Linked DNA regions of Homo sapiens: region 1 is linked to region 2. The links are contacts of gene promoters, found by promoter capture Hi-C in human tissues and cell types (Jung and others, 2019). All regions are on one chromosome and are shown on one strand. The core of a region is centred on a gene start or on the middle of the fragment in contact, and the rest is flanking DNA. Distances in the headings are between cores, read along the strand shown.

Evidence for each region. Contacts are between HindIII fragments. The study calls those that stand out against the background at their distance.
Region 1: a fragment that was not itself captured here is called in contact with the fragment with the promoter of ZNF485 in region 2 in 1 of the 25 tissues and cell types used here (H1 embryonic stem cells).

Annotation. Positions count from the first base shown.
Region 1 is chr10:44,007,195-44,012,221 of GRCh38, reverse strand. No RefSeq gene overlaps it. Among named protein-coding and RNA genes, the nearest start is that of LINC02659, 97 kb to the right of the region's middle. RefSeq lists enhancers at 1,326-1,405, 3,536-3,855. The HindIII fragment of the contact is 4,225 bases long and covers 915-5,027 here.
Region 2 is chr10:43,604,309-43,609,058 of GRCh38, reverse strand. It overlaps ZNF485 (zinc finger protein 485), which reads right to left and starts at 2,621. Exons shown (of 5, transcript NM_145312.4): 1 at 2,513-2,621; 2 at 1,985-2,062; 3 at 319-445. The coding sequence starts at 2,008. It also overlaps the pseudogene CAP1P2. RefSeq lists a silencer at 2,306-2,585 and an enhancer at 2,866-2,915. The HindIII fragment of the contact is 5,082 bases long and covers 1-4,750 here.

The sequences.
Region 1 (5,027 bases), core at 1,778-4,277, 400 kb before region 2:
CTTCGGTGGTCAACGCACTCATTTATACTTCTAGCTGTGTGTACATTGGGCATCAGCGGGTATGGGCATGCAGGTAATCACTCATTAGAGGGGCAAGAGGAAGGTAAAGAACAACCAGCTCCTGAACACATTAAAGCTCTGTTGGGGTCATGTTGTATTTCATGAATCCAGACCCATGGCAAAGAAGAGTTTGCCATAGCCAGTTACAAATTGTTTCTTTTACAATGTTCATTCTTATCAGCAGTTCATGGGAGGAGTGTCTCTACCGCAACCCACCAGGGCAACCCCACACGTGAAGTCAGCATTTAAACATTGGCCAGGGATGCACCAGACCACCCAGGCTCCCACAAGCTCCCAGCCCGGTGCCCACGCTGGCCAGGCCTGTGCTGGCTGGAGCTCTGGGACCTGGATTGGGGCCGCCAAGATGCTTTGAGAGGTCTGACATTACCACTTATTTAACCATGCTGTTGAGGGTACAGGGCCAGAGTGTGGTCTCCATGGCAACTGATTGCAGCATTGCACATATCTGGAGGGAGAAGCACATTTTTAGATGGATGATAGAGGAGGTGGTCTGAGAAAAATGTCCAGATTGTTTAACTCTTTTGTGGCATTGGGAAACTTATTTAAACTTTGACTTCTTTTCCACAAAAAGGAACTATAGATGTGTACATGGATTTCAGTGGAGATTGGTAAGAGCAGTCTAGAATAGTATTTACCCTCTAGAATAGAGGAGGATAATTTGGCAAGGGGTGGCTTCAGTTTCTGAAATTGGCTCCAGTTTTAGAAATGACAGAAAGCAAATGACATCATCCCGGTGGCCTGACAAATACCTTCAACTTATTCCATTATTCTACTTAGCTCTTTAATCTTAAACAAAAGATGGCTAAAACTGTGACTTTCATAGAGTTCCTCCATGGTAATACTACATATGGGTCACTCCATTTCCTTCCTGGGCTAGTAAATACCTCTGCTTTTATGGTGAGGACTTCTGCCAGCTGTAATGAGCTCCCCTGCGTTCCCCAGGGCTGAGAGCAACTGTGTTGGCCCCTAGTGACTCAGCTTCCTGTGCACCTGGTTTCAGGTCTGAGCCCTCAGGGAGCTGACCTGGGGGAAATGGCTCCTCCTTCATGAGATCAGCATGGCTCCTCATGCCATGAGGGGCAGGCACCAAGGCCTGCCCAAGTCTCCTCTGAGCTCACAGAGGGCAGCCCCTGACTGGCTAAGCCAGCCTTATGCCCCATCATGATCATCTGGGCACAGAGCCTGGCCTTCTATGACAGGGACAGAGGGCTGCTGCCAAGAGCTCAGTCCTGGGCTGCTGTCTCTCTGCAAATGGGGAGGAAAGATGTCCTCTTCCAGCCCGTGGAAGCTGGGAAACCTAGCAGATATTCGAATGAGTTCCTAGGACCTAGAGAGCTGATAATCAGGGCTCACAGCTGCTGAACTGAGCTCCCAAGTAGAGCCTCAGCCCAGGTTGGTCCAAGAGTAAAAACAAAGCAGTCCAGAAGACCTAACTAACAGGGAGCTTAAGGGAGCAAGCTAAACTCTACAACACCCTAGGAATTAATACCCAAAATATACATCATGTTAAGAAATAGCTAAAAGCAGTCATGTAGAATTTAAATCTTATCTCACACCTCTTGGAGTAAAATCAAGGTCAGATTTTACTCTGACTTTACTCTTAGATTTTACTCTTCCTCTGTCTTACAGCAGCGAGAGAACTCTGAATGCGCTTGATAGATACAGATGGATATGATTGGTCAGGAATTTGGCAGAATGTCCGTAAGATCAATTGCATGTAGTGCATTGAAAATGCTATGTTCTGGGGTGGAACTGCCTTATTTCAGAATATATGATGCTTGAGGGCTTACAATTATCTGAAAGAAAAAACCCCAGAAATAAGATGTCAACAACTTCATTTTTGTAACCCATATTGATGACTGTGAAAAACTCTTTGGCATCAATAAAACTTGAGTGATTGCCTTTTCCAATTGTCCAAAATGAGAAGCAGACCCAAGCAGGCACATTTCTGCCAAGGGAGATTTCTCTTAATTATCCCTGAACCTCACTGGCTGCAGGGCTTGGTAAACAGCCGCAGCCTCTGCTCTCTGTAACATGACCTCCTGTATAGCACACGCTCATGTGCACAGGCATCTGCACATACATGCACAAAATGCACACCTAAGAAGAGAAACCAGCAGGACCAAACTGGCTTGGAAAGATGACGACGGGACTTGCTAGGTAAGAGTGTGGGCAGAGCACAGGATAGATGACAAATCTTTGCCAAAAGTTTTATAACATGGGACCCAGTTCGCTAAGAGGTCCTCAGCCTCCGTGTTTAGATAAATGAGGGTTTAAATTACTCAAAAGTGACTTGCCTTCTAAAACCACACAGAATTCTTTTTTTTTTTTTTTTGCAATAAAACCTCAAGACTCCCAAATCTCAAAGAAGCAAAAAAGCCATGTCCCTGAGGACTAAAATAGAAAGAGAAGGAAGCGGCAGCCAAGAACATTATTTCCAGCTCACATAGGACCACCCCTCTGTTTGCATACCCGTTATGACTTGGAAAGGAGGTTAAGGGTCCAGTTTAACCCACCAACATTAATATTTTGAGGCCAAGTGGCATCTTCCTGGAGTGGGGGCCGAACAGGCCCGTGGAGAGCGTGCGTTCTTTCTGAACCACGACAAGGCTGCAGTGCCTTCAGTGCTTAAATCCAAGGAGCCAAAGATAATTTCCAAAAGACTGTGCTTTCTAAGGGCAGAAGGTGAAGGGAACAAACAATGCTCCATCTCCCTGAGGACTGGGAAGATTATTAGGTTACCATTTCAAGACAGGAACATTCAGACATGATGTAGTATTTGGACTCAAGAGTGGAAGGCTGAACCCAAAGCAAATCAGTTAAGCTTGAATGTTGGGGAAGTGATTTCTCTTCTCCCAACTTGACTATTTTCTCCCTGTGTTGATTCATTGCATCTACAAACCTTAACACTTTTACCACGTGACTGCTATTTTTCTCTCTATCTTCCCAAGTCCCCTCATTAGAAACCACTGTTGGCCAAACAAGCTAATGAGCGGGACTGTCCTGGCCAAGCCACAGGAGAGACAATTACAGACTTTGACTGCAGGCCGCACACTCACTGGTTCTCATTCTAACCTCCATTCTCTTCCTTCTTTATCCTCCCTCTGTTGGGGTGAACATTTGGCATCAAATGAACCTAGGTACGGTTCTGTGCGCTCACTAGTGCTGACAGTGTAGGCAAGAAACAACTTTCTGAGCCTGTTTTCTCAGATGGGAGATACAACCCACCAGGGTGAGAATTAAATGAGGTGGTTAATAAGGGTAATGCCGTTAACCCACCAGCCCTGAGCTCTATTACACCAGCCCTTTAAAAGCAGAGAGCTTGCCCTGGCTTCCCTGTGGCGTGGGTGGGTACAGAACTCCCAGGGGCTTGTTTCACCAAATTTCCCCACAAAGCCCTGCATAAAACGCCATTGTAGGGCCCAGCTCTGTCTGAGAGAGCCTGTCAGGACAGTTCAACAGCCTTGTTTCCAAATAAGTAGAAATATGAAACAGGCTGGTAAACTTTTGTTTAAAATCTGACCTCTTTTTTAAGATGACCATTGTTTTCCTAAATTCACTTTCCTTCCTTTGCTTCCTGTCCATAAAGAAAGTTCACACTCACAGGCTCGAAACACCTCACAGCATGGAATGCACATGATGTCACCCAGGAGGACCTCTACAGGGGAATTCCAAGTCAGAGCCATGCCACCGTGAGAAGTCACCACGAGTCTTGGGCCACGTGGGTCATGTTCAGATGCTCTGGGCTGACCTGTGAGCCCGAGAGAGAGAGAGAGAGAGAGAGAGAGAAAAGAGGCCACAGAAGGCTCTGTCGCTGATGGGCTTTCCAGATGGCGATTTAAATTATTCTGAGTTGTCTGAAATAACATTGCCCTTACTGCTTTTATGTTTTTCTTATATACTTTTTAATTCTAATAGATAAAAGGCTTTTAAATGATTTTCCATAAAGGTATAAAATTACCCCTGCAAAGAGAAAAAATACTAACGCATATAAATAAACATATTCTGTTTACAGTTTTTTGATTGAAGGAGAGGTCAGGGATGCTTTGATTCCTTTGCAACCCCTCCTCCCTTCATTTTAGAATGTGCCGTCATCTTCTCTTTCTGCTTCCTTCCACCTTTGAAATGCTCCCACATCACCTCTTTGCTGATGGTGTTCCCTGCTCTTCTCTTCCCCCAAGAAGAATTAGTTCTTCCCTGTTGATGGCTTTCTAATTGTTTTATTTACCCCAGCTACAGTATTGATTACTCCCCAATTATTTGCATAAACTCTACTTCTCGACCCACTCAGCTACTTCATGGAGACCTATAATGCTAATACCATAGGAAAGCTTCTGGTCCTGGAAATTAAAAAACAAGAAGTTGAGCCCAGAAACCACACGGCAGGGAAAATGTAGAGTGTGAGAGACAGGGCTGGTGGTGGTATGGGTTGATCTAGGCAGTGGGTGAGTGAGTCTTTCTCAAGACAGTTCATTGAGGGATTTGGAAAGAAAGCACAGGTGTCCCACTGGCTATTAGGCATGCATGTGGATTTGGGCGCCTTGGTCTGGTGGGGTAACACTCCTCACATCACACCAGCTGGGAATAAGTGGGAATTACCTTCTCAGTCTGGAGCTCTTTGTAAATGTTTGTACTATTCTTTCCATGAAGGCAAAGCTAGCGAAGAGGGACAAAACCGTGGCCCCAAGAGACACTCTTTCCTGGGAAGGAACTTGAAAGAGGGAGGTTCTCCAGGGCTGCCTGCAATGGTCTCTTCATCCATCCAACCAACTTGAGTTTAGTCAGCACCAGTTGTGGGTTAGGGACAGTGGTAAGTTCTAGGAAGGGAGGGCAGATTCTCAGACCTCTTTTCTAGAGGAAGATGAAAGAGGTCTTCTTGACAAATTTCCCAAACCCAAAGAAGAAAGTAGAGTGAAAACAAGTGAGGCAGATGGGGCGAGGACCCC
Region 2 (4,750 bases), core at 1,372-3,871:
GGCAAAGTCAACTAGAAAACCAGGTCCTCCTGGAGGACGAGAAACTCCTATTTTGGGAGGCAGATGAATCATGACACAGAAACATTCCAGAACTGGGCTAGTTGGCACCACAAAGCTACCCATCTTAACTCTGTATGGCTCTGACCTTTCTTGAGGGGTGTAAGGGGCATAAACTCCAGCCTCTAAGCCCATACTTAAGAAAAACAAAACAAAAAGCACATCATTTAAGATTTTTTCAATACCCCAAACCATTCACCCTGTGAAAACACAAAGTTGCCCAGCAGACCAATCCTGAGTCAAGGAGAAAGCCATCCTCACCCACAGACACCAGATTCCCATAGTTCTCCAGCATCACATCCCTGTACAGGGCCCGCTGAGCAGCATCCAGGTGTCTCCACTCAATCCGGGTAAAGGCCACAGCCACATCCCCAAATGTCAGCGGTCCCTGCAAAACCAAACCCAATTCTGCTCATCCGGGAACCCCTGAGGGAGGCATCCCAAGAGAAGGAAGCAAGGTGGTCAAAGCCAGCTTCTGACAGTTCCAACAGTGCTCATGGAAACCAACAAGTAAAAGCTGAGGGCTCAGGGGATGTGCGACTCCTCCCTTGAGCAGGTTCTTCCTGCATGCCTGTCCTGCTCCCTCCTCCAGGCCTAGCCTCTGCTCACTCCACCCTTCATGTCACCTCATCAAAAAGGTCTTCTATTTCTCCACCCCATCCTCTGCCACTCAGTCTCGAAACCCATTTCACTTTTCTTCACAGGATTTCTCACCACCTGGCAGGAGAGGTTTGCACTGACTGTCAGCATCCTCTCTAATGTGAGCTCCAGGGGGACAGTGTGGGTCACTGCTGCCTCCCAGTCAAAAACACTGCCTGACACAGAAGTGTTCAAGCTTTATTCAATCAACAAATGAATAGAAACTTTGAAAAGACATGGAAAGTGATTAGCTTTATCCGAGAATTTACAGGGAGTATGATCTGACTCTGGGGCAGAATATTTTTAAAAAAGAAAAAAAAATTGCTTTTCATAAGAGTAACAACTTACTATGTACCAGCCACGGTGCTAAACCCTGAGATACATATCATCTCTCTAAATTTCTGCCGTAACTATATAAAGTAAAATCTATTTCGTAGCTAAAGACACAAAGGTTCAGAGAGTTGGAAGAACTTGCTCAAGGTCCCAGGGCTGGTTGAAGGCACAGTATAAAAGGAAGCCACAAAAAGTGGTAATGAAACTAGAACAAATTGGAATGGCTATGAAATACTAAAAGAAAAAATGAGTAAGCCTTAAAAAAATGAAAAGTGTGTTTCAAATGAAATTACTTGACTTAGAGCAGTAGAAATGTAGGTGATCTTTAATTTTTTTAATTTTATTTGTATAATAGACACTCAAATGTTTATCACTTCCTTTCAAAATACCAATTATTTAATCAGCTTCTCAAAATCCTTCAAAACCTAGTTTTCTCCAGGATAAAAGCAAACTCCAGTCTGGGATTCTAGACCATGAATGTTTCCAACTTTCTCAGACCAGTTTGTTCATGGTCCCGCCATAATGACTTCATTCAGGCAGCGCTTTCCCCTAGTATCCTCTGCAATTATGCAAATCTCATTTATTCTTCAGGAAGAACTAAGGCGCCCACTACTCCACCCCTCCCACCCTACCACACACTAAAGGTCAAGAGAGCACTGCTATCACCCTATGTCTTTATGGCCTACGTCTTTACATGCTAACGTGTATTTTTTTCATCGTCTGCCAGTTTGCAAAGCACTTTTCTGTTTCTAGCACTCTAGAAAACATGGGTAGCAATAATCTACTTGGTGAATGACTACGTAATGGGTAGACAGGACGGAAATCGCGGGACCCATCCAGGATTGGTTCGGGTAGCTTTGTCCACACACAGGGCAGGGCATTGTCCGGGCAAGAGGCATAAACCCCACCTCGCTGAAACACGTGGTTTCTCAAGAAATGGAAAAATCAAACTTGCCTGGATCTGGGCTCTTGGGGCCATCTGTCTCCTGAACTGTTCTCCCAGGCAAGGGCTGAGAATCCTGCGTAAGTCAATCTGGGAAAGAAGAGAGGAAATTGAGGAAGTCCCTCCGTGCCCTAGCCTAGCTAGAATCTGCCCTCTAGACCAGGTCCCCGCCCGCCCGTTCCCTCCACAGGTGGGCAGACAGGTCCAGGTGGGTACGCTCGGGAAGAAAGGAAAGGGAACGGCTGCTGGGATCCGGCCTGGACTGCAGCCAGCTCCACGCCAAACACTTTTGGCAGCACCGGGGGACGGCCTTGTCAGTGGCCCAATCTGTCGGCCGGGGCGCAAGGCTGGAGCGCTCTGTGATGCACCAGCCTCGAGCGGTCGCTCCACACGGCGCAGCCACTGCGGGTGGGCACTGCCCACCGCCGCCTTCCCCTCCCACCCCGGCTCGCCCCTCGACCCGCCCCTGGGAAAGGCGGGGAGCACCCGCCAGGGGCTCGAGGCTTCAGGGACCCAGCCTGACCCCGGCCGCTCACGAACCGAACCGAGCCGGCAGGGCTGCGGAGCTGCACGCCCAGAGAGTCAGCGACCACACCACGCCGTTCGGACAGTAACCACCAGCCAGGGGCTGGTGCAGCGCTCGCACCACGCGGAGACAGGCTGGACCGGAAGCGGAAGTGGCTGAGGCCGCGGAGGCCTCTGGGAAACGTAGTCTGGGCCGCTTGGGGTCTTAGGGGCTCCATCCGCAGAGCAGGTTGGCATCACCTGGGAATCTTTGAAAAGTGAAGGTGCGGGAAGTGGAGAGCGGCTGATCGCAGTCGGGAGGTGATACATTATGACTGACATGCAAAATCTGGTAAAAAATTGGACAGGGCAGTGGGCCGCCTGGAGGCAGTATCCCATACCTCTGACATGCACCGTGGATATGGAGATAGTCCTTCAAAAGCAGGAGCAGCTCCATATGCGCAGGCATTTGACTCGCTGCTTGCCTGCCCTGTGGCAGAGTACTTGAAGATCAGTAAAGAGATTGGGGAAGACGTGCAGAAAGATGTGGAGATGGTACACACAGTTTTGAAGTTGGAGTGAGCTCTCTTGGTTACAGCTTCTCAGTGTCAATAGCCGGCAGGTAATAAGCTTTCCGATCTGTTGGCACCTATCTCAGAGCAGATCAAAGAAGTGATAACCTTTTGGGAGAAGAACCGAGGCAGCAAGTTGTTTAATCAGCTGTCAGCTGTCAGTGAAAGTATCCAGGCCCTAGGCTGGGTGGCTATGGCTCCCAATCCTGGCCCTTATGTGAAAGAAATGAATCATGCTGCTGTGTTTTATACAAACTGAGTCCTTAAAGAGTACAAAGATGTGGATAAGAAGCATGTAGACTGAGTCAAAGCTTATTTAAGTATATGCACAGAGCTGCAGGCTTACATTAAGGAGTTCCATACCACCGGACTGCCTGGAGCAAAACGGGGCCTGTGACAAAAGAACTGAGTGGACTGCCATCTGGACCCTCTGCTGGATCAGCTACTCCTCCCCCACCACCAGGCCCCCCTCCTCCACTAGTCTCTGTCAGTTCAGGCTCAGATGAGTCCGCTTCCCTCTCAGCACTGTTTGCGCAGATTAATCAGGGGGAGAGCATCACACATGCCCTGAAACGTGTATCTGATGACATGAAGACTCACAAGAACCCTACCCTGAAGGCTCAGAGTGGTCCAGTACGCAGTGGCCCCAAGCCATTCTCTGCACCTAAACCCCAAACCAGCCACAAAGAAGGAGCCAGCTGTACTTGAACTGGAGGGCAAGAAGTGGAGAGTGGAAAATCAGGAAAATGTTTCCAATCTGGTGATTGATGACACAGAGCTGAAACAGGCGGCTTACATATACAAGTGTGTCAACACGATGTTGCAAATCAAGGGCAAAATTAACTCCATTACAGTAGATAATTGTAAGAAACTTGGTCTGGTATTCGATGATATGGTGGGCATTGTGGAGATAATCAACAGTAGGGATGTCAAAGTTCAGGTGATGAGTAAAGTGCCAACCATTTCCATCAACAAAACAGATGGCTGCCATGCTTACCTGAGCAAGAATTCCCTGGATTGTGAAATAGCCAGTGCCAAATCTTCTGAGATGAATGTCCTCATTCCTACAGAAGGCGGTGACTTTAATGAATTCCCAGTTCCTGAGCAGTTCAAGACCCTCTGGAATGGGCAGAAGTTTGTCGCCACAGTGACAGAAATTGCTGGATAAGCGAAGTGCCACTGGGTTCTTTGCCCTCCCTTCACACCATGGGATAAATCTGTATCAAGACGGTTCTTTTCTAGATTTCCTCTACCTTTCTGCTCTTAAAACTGCTTCTCTGCTCTGAAAAGCACAGCTACCTGCCTTCACTGAAATATACCTCAGATGTGCAGTGGGATAGCAGGTCAGTTGATCTTCTGCAGGAAGGTGCAGCTTTTCCAAATCAGCTCAACTGCCGACGAGGACTAATGATGCATTTTAGCTTTGAGCTTTGGGGGTTATTCTACCAACAAACAGTCCACTGGGAAGAAAACAGTCCCAGGAATTAACAGATCAGAACGTTCACACTGGTTAATCTTTTTCTGACAATGAGCATGAAGGTAGCAGAAGCTGGTGTGTTTCCAGATGGTTCTTCTAACCAAACTAATTTTTCACTATTGACAAGTGAGGCAAGGATTGCACTGGACCAAAGGCTGAGGCTTGGCCATCTAGCATTCCACGCAAAATTGTTTCCTATAAGCATTCCTTTTATTCACTATTCTA